Linked DNA regions of Homo sapiens: region 2 is linked to region 1. The links are contacts of gene promoters, found by promoter capture Hi-C in human tissues and cell types (Jung and others, 2019). All regions are on one chromosome and are shown on one strand. Each heading gives the region's core, a stretch centred on a gene start or on the middle of the fragment in contact. The rest is flanking DNA. Distances are from core to core; before and after follow the strand shown. Region 1 holds the start of NANOS1 (nanos C2HC-type zinc finger 1). Region 2 overlaps LINC03036 (long intergenic non-protein coding RNA 3036).

Region 1 (6,239 bases), core at 2,601-5,100:
GAAAAGAACAGGTTAAGACAATCTGTACCTCTACAGTTGGAGAAGCCCTTTTGACTCTTCCCTGTATTGTTTTGCTACTAGGCAAGTATGCAGCATGTTCTTATGAAGATAATTTTGTCATACTTTGTATATTTCTTAAACTTTGAAAAATTGGGTTTCTCTAAATGTAATTTTGCAAAATGTTTAAAGTTCCACATTGAGTTCCAAGGATTTTTAAATGAATGTGTTTACATATACTTTTCATAAGAGAACCCTAGAAAATTAACTATAGTAATACTCTGCGTTTTAACTCCCAGTATTCATTGTCAGCTGGAAAACCTAGGCAAATTTGGCACAGGGGCTGAACATGGGGTACTTTTTTTCTTTTTTGGAGACAGAGTCGCTCTGTTGCTCAGGCTGGAGTGCAGTGGCGTGATCTGGGCTCACTGCAACCTCCGCCTCCTGGTTTCAAGCAATTCTCCTGCCTCAGCCTCCTGAGGAGCTGGGATTACAGGCGCCCACCACACCACCCGGCTAATTTTTGTATTTTTAGTAGAGACGGGGCTTCGCCATGTTGGCCAGGCTGGTCTCCTGACCTTGTGATCCACCCCCGCCTCGCCTCCCAAAGTGCTGGGATTACAGGCATGAGCCACCACACCCGGCCTGAAAATGGGGTACTTTAAAAATAGATGAATAGTGGCTGCCTGAGTAGTGGAGAGGGTCTTCTGGATTCCTTTTCCAATACTCTCCTGCCCTCAAGAAGCTCCAGCTCAATATGTTCTTAGTTCTGGTAAAATAGCAATGTCAGAATATCAAATTAACATTAGGCACATCTCATCACAGTGACTCCCATATATTGAGGCTATGCCAAAGCCCCATGCTCAAGACCTTTGGAAACCGTCTGTAATTTGACTCTGAAAATACAAAGTAGCTAAATTGATCTTGCCACCTGGCTAGCCCTTTTGGCCTAGAGAATGCGCTGATCTGTTCATAGTGGTCCTTTTGAAAAGGCAGAACACGAGCAGTGAGAGAGGTAAGAGGATTCATGTTGACCTTAGAAACTTCACCCAGAAGGTGAAGCTCATTTAAACTGGTAGATTTTCTATAGCAAAAGAAAGGAGAACAAGTAATTACATGGTTTCATTAAGCTACTTAATTTAGGCCCAGTCAGATCTGCAGTTCTCTCTGGTCTGGGGTTAAGACTAGCAGCGTTGGATTATTTGTCTTTCCTGGCTAAGAAACATTGTGCTTTCCTCCTGCCCCCCAAGTTCTTGAAATGCACCTTTTCTTTCACCAAAAAGACAGCTATCGGGTATTTACCCCATCCTCTAACACACCTTCAAATGAAGGTTCCTGATTGAGTCAATTTGCTGTGGATGAAGTTAGCTGTTTAATGCGAAAGCAGTCTAACTTCTAGTAGCCTAGCTAAATCCTACTGGGAGCCTTATACACGTAGACTAAACTCTTGCTGGTATCTTCAGATAGTAATGCATTTGTGTATTTCAGATGAGTTCATCTTAATTCACTTCCATTTTTTGCCTTCTATTGCCTTGCTTGGCAGGTAGCTGCATTCCATAGTGTGGCATTCAGTATGGTGGATTTAAAAGTGAGGGTGGGAGGGTAAAGTAGGGGTTAGGAACTTTTGCCCAAGGATCAGGTTTAGTCTTGCTTATGGGTAAACTGGTGGGGTTCCGGAAACCGACATGGGTCTTCCAGTAGGAGTGGGAACACATGAAGGACCCCCAACAATTCCTTTAATTAGTGCTTATTCTAGTTTGAGCACTGCCTGTATTAAAGTCAGACGCAGCCCACGGTGGAACCTTCTTGAATACGAGTTAATACACGAATAGCTCAGAGCTAGAGATCCATCTTCTATTTGTTTGACAGGCAACAGCTGGAATGGGCTTTCCTCCACTAGGAACCCTGAAATTGAGTAATCTAGGGTGAATTAATACTGCTGTCTTCCCTTCCTCCCTTTGATCTTAATATCATAAACGTTTTTAAAGAACTGGAAGAGGGTGAGTGTGTAGAGAAAATGCCAAGTAGGAAAGTTACAGGTGAGATTAATGAATTCATACTGTTACTGTATAAATACACAATTTTTTTAAACAGCACCATTTCCAAGTTATACACAATATGATTATGACTTGGCACAACTTTTAAAGGTGGAAAAGGCTAGTTGCTAGTTCAGTAATAAAATACCTGGTACATAGAACGATAAGGAGCTGTATTCTACCTGCTACACATTGTGCATTTTACACCTCCAGCTAGGACAGAAACAAGCCACAAGCGGGGAATACCCGCCCAAATTAATACTGGAAAGTTTACAAAACCTTCACTTCTCATAAGGGTGATGCTACCAGCGGCTTGCTTCACCTGGAATTAGAGTAACTGATTTTTAAAGACAACTGAGAATATTAACTCGCTTCAAACAATAAAATAGTCATTTTGCCGACATTTCATAAAATCGCCAGTTTTAAGCTCAGTTCAGAGGCTTTTAAAAAAATATTCTAGACCTAGTAAAGTGCCTCCATTCATAAAATGAAACATCCAAGATTGAGACAATTTCATACTGATGCGCATCTAAAATAGGTCGACGTATACAGTAAATAAACAGCGCCTCTAAGTTGCCATATTTCAGTTAGTGGAATACACACCCAGCCTTCGCCGTTCTGGATGTGCAAACTAGAAACTGAAGACAAATGGGGATTTCAGCGTCTAGTCCCAATCGTTCAGCACGGAAGTACTCCACACGGTCGGCTGCTTTTCAAAAACCACCAGGACGACGTCCCATGTCGAGCCGACCGCTGAGCCGCACGCCTCCCCACGGCGGGGGCGAGATGGTGCGCAGACCTAGCGGTGCGAGGGGCGGCGGCGACCCTGGGCGGCCGGGAGCCCGGGCCTTCAGCGCAGCTTCTTGCCAGGCGGGCCGTCCCTGGCGCTGCGGGGCGGCGGGCGGGCGGGCGGCGGCGGCACTTTGGAGAGCGGGCAGTACTTGATGGTGTGCGCGTTGTCGCCGCTGGCGCCGCACAGGGGACACGTGTAGCGGCGCAGCACGGGACACAGCACTCGCCCGTCGGGGCCCTTGAGGATATGGGTGGTGTAGAGCGCCATCGCCTCCTTGTTGTTCCGGCAGAACACGCACACCTGCAGCTCGGGCTTCAGCAGCCGGGCGGCCGCCGCCCCGGAGGCCGCGTGCAGCCGGGGCTCGGCCGCCCACGCCGGGGCCCGCTCCTCGCGCGGCGTCGCCTCGCTGGTGGTGGTGGCGGCGGCGGCGGCGGCGGGCGCGCAGCCCAGCAGCACGGCGGCGGCACGACCCGCGAACGGGCTCAGCTCGGCGAAGCGCTCCTCCAGCAGCCCGGCCTCGGCGGGGCCCGCGCACAGCTCCAGCGCGCGCAATTCCAGCGCGCTCCCCAGGTAGCGGCCCCGGGACCCCGGCTCGTCGCTGTCGTCGTCGTCGTCCTCGTCGTAGTCGGGCGGCCCCAGCGCCGGCCCCAGCGCCCCAGGCCCGGCCCCCGTGTGGGGGGAGCAGCAGGACGACGAGGAGGAGGAGGGCGGGGAGCCGCCGCCGCCGTTCCCACCGCGGGCGCAGCCGAAGCGCGGCTCGCCGTCCACCGCTTTGGTGATGAGCGTGGCGAGCCCCAGGTAGTCGTTCCAGGAGCTGAAGGGCTGCGGGTGCGCCGGGCCCGGGGCGCTCACGTAGCGGGCGCTGGGCACGAGCGCCATGGGCGGGGGGGCGCGGCCGCGGCGGGGCGAGCGGGGCGCCCAGGGGAAAGCCTCCATGGGCGGGCTGCGGGCCGCGCGCCGCCTCCCCGCCGCCGGCGCGGGCCGGACGGAAGGGACACGCCGAGCCTGCCCGCCGGCCTGCCGCGGGGTGGGGCCGCCGCGCCGCCTTTTATCGGGCCCACTCCTCCCCGCCCCCCGGCCTCGCCGCCGCGGCCCTGCCCCCTGCGTTCCCCCGCCCCGGCCACCTCGCCCGCGCCCCGGACGGAGGCGGAGCGGAGGCGGGCTGGCTGTGTGCGCGCTCCGCTCCAGCCCGCGCGGCTCCCGCGCCCCGCGCGCTGCGCCAGCCTCGCCAGCTGTCGGGCGGCCTTCATTCCGGGAGGGGGCGGGCGAGGCGCCGCCTCGAGCCGTGGCGCTCATTGGCTGCAGACCAGAGCCCCCCGGCGCCTCGGGCGCCGCTCCGGACGCTGATTGGTGGGAACACGGGGAGGGGGCGTGTTCTCCGCGCAGCTGGGAGGTGAGGAGAAAGTAGGGGAGAGAAGGGCCGGGAAGGGAGGGCCGCTGGGGCCCGCATTCGAGCGCCGGGCCTGGGCTTGGAGCAGGTGACCAGGCCTGGGTCTCCTCGGCCTGGTGGTGAGGCCCCCCGAGGACAGGGGTCAGGGTGGCCACAGGTTTACGCCCCCACCTCCCAGCCTTTAATGGCCCTAGGCCCTAATCCTGAGAATCCCCGCTATCCACCCCCTTCTCACCAACATCAGCATGAAAAGCTGGACGCGTTGGAAGGATGCAGCTCTCCCATCACAGCCGCCCAACCAGCCAGTGGCTTCCGTTTGCACCGCGCGTTGGAGCGCTTTCCCCTGGGCGAAATCCATACAAACCCTGAGGTTCGGGGAGGCTGTGGTTCCTGCCGCGGTAAGAGCGGAGGGACGCAGGACTTTCCGGCTGCACGCAGCAGCCTTCCTCCCAACAGGTGCTCAGGGACTTCAGCCAATGGGTGGCCGATAGCCGGTTACTTAGGTCGGGGTTGGGGCTGGGCCGGAAAATCTCATGGCTGGAGAGCCTAGGACAGTGACTGGGATGTGTGTGTGTGTGTGTACCCCCTCGCCCCAGAGGCCTGAGTCAAAATGTGGGTTGTATGTGCAGTTTGAAAAACAACGTGTATTCAATGTTATATTTTGTCTTCCTTCCTTCCTTCCTTCCTTCCTTCCTTCCTTCCTTCCTTCCTTCCTTCCTTCCTTCTTTCCTTCCTTCTTTCCTTCCTTCCTTCCTTCCTTCTTTCCCTCCTTCCTTTTCTTTCTTTTTTTTTCTTTTCTTTCCGCATCCCGGGTTCAAGCAATTCTCCTGCCTCAGCCTTCCAAGCAGCTGGGATTACAGATGCCCGCCACCATGCCGGGCTAATTTTTTGTATTTTAGTAGAGACGGGGTTTCACTATGTTGGCCAGGCTTGTCTTGAACTCCAGACCTCGCGATCCGCCTGCCTTGGCCTCCCAAAGTGTTGGTGTTACAGGCGTGAGCCACCGCGTCTGGCCTCTTTCTTTCTTTCTCACTCTTTCTTTTTTCTTCTTGATTTTTCTTTTTTCTTTTTTTTTTTTCTTGAGACAGGGTCTCACTATGTTGCCTAGGCTGGTCTTGAACACCTGGCCTCAAGCGATCTTCCTGCCTTGGCCTCCCAAAGTGCTGGGATTACAGACATGAGCCACCACACCTGGCCTCAACATTATAATTAAATACTTTGAAATGAATAAAACATGTTGTGTAAAAGCCATGGAGAATAAGAGCCAGAAGATGAGTTTTGATTAGGAAGATGGCAGGTGGTCTTACACTTCCCAACTTTTTTAAAAATTGAAAGTAGGAAAGGCTTTAGATACTGAGGGCTCTTCTAGGATGAAACCTAGAACTGGGATCAGGAAAATGCCTCCCCTGGCAGGTGGGCCCTGGCAGGGTGGGCTTCATGGGGCAGATGGGGCTTTCCTTCCTCACTCTGGACCATGCAGTGGCTGTGGAAACAATGAGCCCTCACTAGGCCTGAGGCCACACTCACAGGTCTTGGCTGTGCCCAGCAGGTTTAGAATGGCTCAGCAGGGGATGCCCAGAACCTAGTGCTGGCATTGGTTAATATTAGAATGAATGAATGAGGGAATCAGAATGTCAGCATGGGAAGGGATCTTTGGGATCATTCTGTTCGATCTTTTCTTGCCTTTTTCTTTTCTTTTTTAATAGATGGGGGTCTCGCTATGTTGCCCAGGCTGGTCTTGAACTCCTGGCCTCAAGTGATCCTCCTGTCTTGGCCTCACAAAGTGCTGGGATTGCAAATGTGAGCCACTGCACCCAGTTCTGTCCAATCCTTACAGATGAAGAAAATGAGACCTAGAGAAGAGTAGGATTTCTTTTTTTTTTTTTGAGACAGAGTCTCACTCTGTCGCCCAGACTGGAGTGCGATGGCACGATCTAGGCTCACTGCAATCTCTGCCTCCTGAGTTTAAGCGATTCTCCTGCCTCAGCCTCCTGAGTAGCTGGGTTTAGAGGCATGTGCCACC
Region 2 (6,239 bases), core at 2,634-5,133, 230 kb after region 1:
AAAGTGCTGGGATTACAGGCGTGAGCCACCGTGCCTGGCCGGAAATCTACTTTTAAAAGATGAGTGACATTGAAGCTCATTTGTGAGCCTGGTGGCCTCTCTCCCTTAGGCCATAGACTGCCTTTTCCACGTTACCTGTCACAGGAGGACCAGGATGGCTGATCCTGGGCTGTGATTCTGGGGGCAGCTGAGCCAAGTCATCTAGAACCGTAACTAGAGTGGCAAGTGCCGAGGTTCAAGGCGCGGGAGGTGGAAACCCTCATCCTGCCTCCAGGCAAGTTAGGAGCTGATGCTTAAGGTTAAAACCCCGGCCGACCCCAGCAGACCTGGGCAGATCCTGACAGACCCCAGCGGACCCATTCCCCAGAGCCCAGCCTGCTGTCCCCGCTGTCTGCAAGGTTGGTCTCAAAGACTTTGCTCACAGTGCTCTTCCCTGCCCTTCATACCAGCATCTACTCCGTAGGCACTTCCATGTTTTCACGAGGCGACACTGACTTTTACAAACCAGACAGTCATCAACATGAGCCTCAGACACAGCTCTGACCCTCTTACTCCCAAATCAAAACCTTTCAGTGTTCACAGAATTAAGTGCAAACCTCTTGCGGGGCACTCAGCCCTCTCTGGCCCAGCTCCTGTCTTCCTTCAGGTTCTTGCTTTCGGCAGAGCTAACCTTTCGTCTCCCCTGCCCACCTCTCCCTCCCCAGCCCAGCATTCTGGGTTCCAGCCTCTCCTCCTTCCCTGCACAAGTTCTCTTTTGCTTCCCAATCTTTGCTCAAGCTGTTCTCTTGGCGTGGGACTGCTCCATATCAACTCCCACCTCCTCCAGGAAGCCTTCCTGGTCCCTCTGGCCATAGGGAATCTCTCCCTTCCTCCACTTTGTCCCCATCTCTTATAGCACTTCTCCCTCATCTGCAGTTTCCAGCGTCATTTGTTTATCTTGTTCCTGGGGGCAAGGGTTAAATTGCCTTTGTGTCTGCTCATTCCATAGGCCTGGCAGAGTGCTGACACATAGTAGGTGTTCAATAGATGGGTTGCCAGATTGAGCTGAAAACTTCCAGTGAAAAGAGTCTGTAGCTTATGTGTCCTGAGTCACACAGACACAGACAGCCAAGTGTCCTAATGCCCTTTGTGCCTAATTCTGGCATAAAGACACTTTCTCCTGCAGAGAAACTTCCCAGTCCCACAACTCCCCCAGCAAGTGAGCAGTGAGTTTAGAGTAAGGAAGGCTCCCGAGTAACCTTCTCCATGGTGACATCGGCCACTGGCAGGCAGGGCTTAAGGGAGGACTGAATTGGTTTCTACCAATATAGAGGCTGGTGTCTTGTCTTTTCTTCCTTTCTTCCTATTACTCTTTAAATAAAAGCAATAACTGCGCATGATATAAAAACTTGACCAGTACAGAAAGATCTAGAAAAATGATTAAAATCTCCCTGCTTTTCTCTGACCCCAATCCTCATCCCCAAAGTTTCCTATGTATCCCACCAGAAAAAAGTATGCATGTATCTACATATAAATATATATCATTTTAAACAGTTACATAGGGGAGCAAGGTATACGTACACTATTCCATATCTGGCCTTTCCCCCATTTATTTAATGATATATCTTCAGGGTCTTTTACTCTGAGTCTAGAACTTTGCCTCCTTATGTCTAATCACTGCAGACTATTCTGTTGTATGGATGGGCTGAAATTGATTTGGCCTGCTTTGACAAACTGAGAGTCATTTGGGTGGCCTCCAACTTTTGGAGTGACCGTCACGTGTGCACAGCTCGATGTTTTTTTGTCCATGTATCCATTAGGGGGCACCTAGTGGTAGAACCGCAGAATTAAAGGAAACCTGCATTAGAAATGTCAGCTGAGGCCCGGCGCGGTGGCTCACACCTGTAATCCCAGCACTTTGGGAGGCCAAGGCGGGAGGATCACTTGAGGTCAGGAGTTTGAGACCAGCCTGGCCAAGATGATAAAACTCCGACTCTACTAAAAATGCAAAAATTAGCTAGGCATGATGGCGGGCACCTGTAGTTCCAGCTACTCAGGAGGCTGAAGCAGGAGAATCGCTTCAACCTGGGAGTCAGAGGTTGCAGTGAGTCAAGACTGTGCCACTGCACTGCAGCCTGGGAGACAGAGCAAGACTCCGTCTCAAAAAAAAAAAAAAAAAAAAAAAAAAGTCAGCAGAATTGCTAGAAAGACTGTACCTGCTACTTTCCCACCAGCTGGGTAGAAGGGCACGGCTGGTTTCCCAGCAGGCACCAGTACCTGAGACACCTTTGCCCTTTGTTCAGGGTGTGCCCTTTGTGCTCTGGGGAGCTGTCCTCCTCGGCTCCCTCTCCTTTCCTCTGTCCTGCCTCAGGTTCTGTCTCTGGTCAGGTCTTCGGGCTGCCAAGCTCCCAAGTGAAAGTTGAAGCATCAGGCAAGCCTATTGTTTGGCACCCAAGATGCTTATCAGTAAATCAGTTCAAAAGTAGCCTGAGTTCAAGTGTTCTTTAAAGGTGAACCAATCAAGTTGATCTGGTGGAATTTATTCAAATTTTTGTACCCTCTTAATCTCTATGTAGAAAAGATGAAGAAGGCCCAGCATGGTGGCTCAGGCCTGTAATTCTAGCACTTTGAGAGGCCGAGGTGGGAGGATTGCTTGAGCCCAGGAGTTCGAGACTAGTCTGAGCAATATAGTGAGATCCCCATCTCTACACAAAATAATAAAATTTTAAAAAAGCAAAGAGGAATAGATGTTCATTTGAATCAACGTATACAATTTTGGTGGAAGGGCTATGTGTATCTGAGAGCGGCAAGACCAGACCAAGTGATGTAAGGCAAGCAGGTCCAGAGTCAGAGGCTCCTGCAGGCCCCACAAGGATTAGGGGCCCCTAGGACACAGGCTGTGCCTGCGTGAGCGGCCCCTGTCAGCCACCCCACCACGCCCTTTTCCCTTCCCCCACCATGCTCCAGACATGTCTGGACTTTCTTCCAGGCCTTGCTAAGGGCTCATGACCCATGCTCTGCCTCTTCCTGGACCCCTCTTTTCTGCCTTCCACACGGCCAGCTCCTTCTTACCTTCAGGTCTCAGAGAGGCCTTTCCTCCCTCTGTCCTCCTCCCCACTCTTCCAAAGGACACTCGGCCAAGTCCTTCACAGCATCATTCTGTCCTTATTCACATCTGTTTGTTTGTTTTGTTTGCTGTCTACCTTCCCCGCCATAGGGTGTCAGCGCCACGCCCTGCCTATCAGCGCAGTGCCCAGTGCACAGGGCCTCATGCGAGGAGTCACTTGGTAGATGTGGAATAAAGGCATGCATCTGGCTGGGGGGGGGGTGGCTCACGCCTGTAATCACAGCACTTTGGGAGGCTGAAGTGGGCAGATCACAAGGTCAAGAGATCGAGACCAGCCTGGCCAACATGGTGAAACCCTGTCTGTACTAAAAATACAAAAATTAGCTGGGCGTGGTGGTGCACGCCTGTAGTCCCAGCTACTCAGGAAGCTGAGACAGGAGAATCTCTTGCACCCAGGAGGCAGAGGTTGCAGTGAGCCGAGATCGTGCCACCACACTCCAGCCTGGCAACAGAGTGAGACTCCGTCTCAAAAAAAAAAAAAGGCATGCATCTATGAATGAAAAACCAAATTAGGAAAAGTGAAGGAGGAAAGAAAAAATTAAAGGAGATCTTCAGTGAAAGTAAATAAGTCCCCCGCTTCACCAGGCAGCAACAAAGAGGAGCGTCCACTTCTGGTGGAGATCAGGCTACATCAGCCACTGCCATTTCCTGACCTAGGAGCTCCTAGTCCCTCTGAGGAGGTGGATCCTCTGAGAGGGCAGTTGCTATGGAGGTGGAGCCGAGAGGTGATTCCTGGCTGCTCCCAGACTATGCCAAAGAGGCAGAGAGATGTGGTAAGTGTACAAGAATGACACAGGAGTTTATGGGAGTTCAAAGACTCTCTGACCAGTCCGAGAATAAAGCATTAGGGAAAAAGGCACTGGGGAGAAGTTGCCAGGAATTCTCAGCATCAAGCAGGAGGTTACCCACTTAATGTTTGGTATGGCGTTAGAGGCTGTCCTCAATGGGATAATCAGATAAGCATTTTTTTTTCCCGAGACAAAGTCTTGTTCTGTTGTCCAGGATAGAGTGCAATGGCATGATCTCGGTTCACTGCAATCTCTGCCTCCCGGGTTCAAGCTATTCTCCTGCCTCAGCCTCCTAGGTAGCTGGGATTACAGATGCCCGCCACCACGCCCGGCTAATTTTTGTATTTTAGTAGAGATGGTGCTTCACCATGTTGGGCAGGCTGGTCTCAAACTCCTGACCTCGTGATCTGCCCGCCTCAGCCTCTCAAAGTGCTAGGATTACAGGCGTGAGCCACCACACCTGGCCCAGATAAGCATTTTAAACACTGACACCCCTAATTGCTCTGTTACAGGACATAACAGATGTGGACTGTCATACACTAACTACTGAGAAAAATAATTTGAGCTGCCCCCAGGTGGTGCTGCCTGCCAGCCAACCATTCACTGTGGGCAGTTGCTCTCTTTGTTCAACAGAACATGCGTAACTATTTGAACATTTTACTGTGCTTTGTCCATGTTGTTTTACAAAAACAAGTGGAAAGTAGAAAAAAAGAGTAATCTCAAAAATAAGCAATATAAGTTTTCTATGCTTAATACACTTGCTTCCAAAATGGAGATCAGTGGCCAATCTTTGAGTTCAATTGAATGCTTACTGGACTTAAGTGGGTCCACTGTAGACTTAATGGCAAAGGAAAAGAACAACATATAAGAAAATGCTATAAATATGTAACTGGAATTTAAAACTATTTTGGACCTCTCAGAATCAGGGCCACTACGAGCTAAATGGTGTCTTGTGCAAATTGGGAAAAGGAATTCCTTTCTTTTCTGGATAAGTACAACTCTACATCAGGATACACATCTAGATTTCAGTCTAACCCTTGGTCAGATGCCCTTGTGTAGTGTACAGCCTTACCAACTCTACAGTGCTGCCTGGGATGGAACAACCACTTATAATGTGTAAGTCTCTAATTGCACTCTATACAGTTAATTTGATACATATTTTCATATTTACAAAAGCAGAGGACTGCCTGTGTACAGTTTTTCTGTTCACTTACTTGTAAATTAGAAGGCTTGTCTCATATTTGAGACATACCTATGCAATTTGAGAATGCAGGATCATTAACTATGAAAAACTGCCTGAAGGGCAAGACCAGGGTTCACATTCCCCTCCTTCAGCAATCCTACTGCCTTTTTAGAGCAGAAGCTGCTCTTTACCTTGTTTCCTAGTTATTTGGATGGCTTCTTCCTTCTTCTACTAGATTGTCAACTCTCTGAGGGCAAGAGCTGTTTGTCTCATTTGTCTCTTTACTTCTAGCAAACAGTACAGAAACTTGTGGGGGTTCGTTGATTTCACTTTGATAGACAATGACAAGAATTTCTGCAATAATTGTTGTTATAATGCAGAAGGGTTGATATATTTTCTCCAGGTGCTTGTACCTCTGAGCTTCTATAGCCTTCTGAGCATATGCAGCACCTGGCTAACTGATTTGCTTTTATTTTAGAGGTTGATGGGAAAACCACTCAGACACCAGGAGGTGTTATGGCTCATGGACGTTTGTTAAGTATCAGATGTTACTCAGGACTGAGTCATGCCTTTTCAAAAGGACTGCATTTGGAGACTGGCGGGTTCTAGCACTTTCAATGAATAGTGCATTTTTTTTTTTAGTGGGTTCCTTCCTATCCATGCCTGGGAGCATGGGCTGAGCTTTTGGAGTAAGCCAAATGGGATAAAGGGTCAGATGTCGGAAAAAGGAAGCACCCACAGTGGCCGTACATGTGATGGGCTTTTGGGCAGCACCACGGACCATGGAATGGAATGGCTTAGGTCCTCTTCATGAAGAAATAACTCTGGGATACACTTAGGAAAACTGCAGGACCCTTTCAGTTGGCCACACAATGGAGCTGCATCAGCTGGGTGCTGCCTCAAAGAGGAGTGAGTTGTGCTCATTTCCCGAATGTTGCAAATCTGGAAATTATCTTACGTTGGAAAAGCGATGACTGTTCCTGCACTCTCCCCCAATTTCCTGAAAACTTTGATTTTTTTAGGATATTCTGAGAAGAGTAAAAACCCACGGCTGTGGCCAGGTGTGGTGGCTCACATCCGTAATCCTAGCACTCTGGGCGAGAGAGACATCAGGTGGATCACCTTAGGTCAGAAGTTCAAGGCCAGCCTGGCCAACACGGTG

What was found. Contacts are between HindIII fragments. The study calls those that stand out against the background at their distance.
Region 2: a contact is called between a fragment that was not itself captured here and the fragment with the promoter of NANOS1 in region 1, in 1 of the 25 tissues and cell types used here (H1 embryonic stem cells).

The regions. Positions count from the first base shown.
Region 1 is chr10:119,027,325-119,033,563 of GRCh38, reverse strand. NANOS1 (nanos C2HC-type zinc finger 1) reads right to left here and starts at 3,850. Exons shown (of 1, transcript NM_199461.4): 1 at 1-3,850. The coding sequence starts at 3,762. The coding sequence ends at 2,884. It overlaps LINC03036 (long intergenic non-protein coding RNA 3036), which reads left to right and starts at 3,993. Exons shown (of 4, transcript NR_186540.1): 1 at 3,993-4,219. RefSeq lists silencers at 2,779-3,078, 3,449-3,658, 3,779-4,248 and an enhancer at 4,073-4,573. The HindIII fragment of the contact is 19,263 bases long and covers 1-6,239 here.
Region 2 is chr10:118,799,353-118,805,591 of GRCh38, reverse strand. The region is part of intron 3 of LINC03036 (long intergenic non-protein coding RNA 3036); the gene reads left to right. Among named protein-coding and RNA genes, the nearest start is that of CACUL1, 48 kb to the right of the region's middle. The HindIII fragment of the contact is 5,883 bases long and covers 942-6,239 here.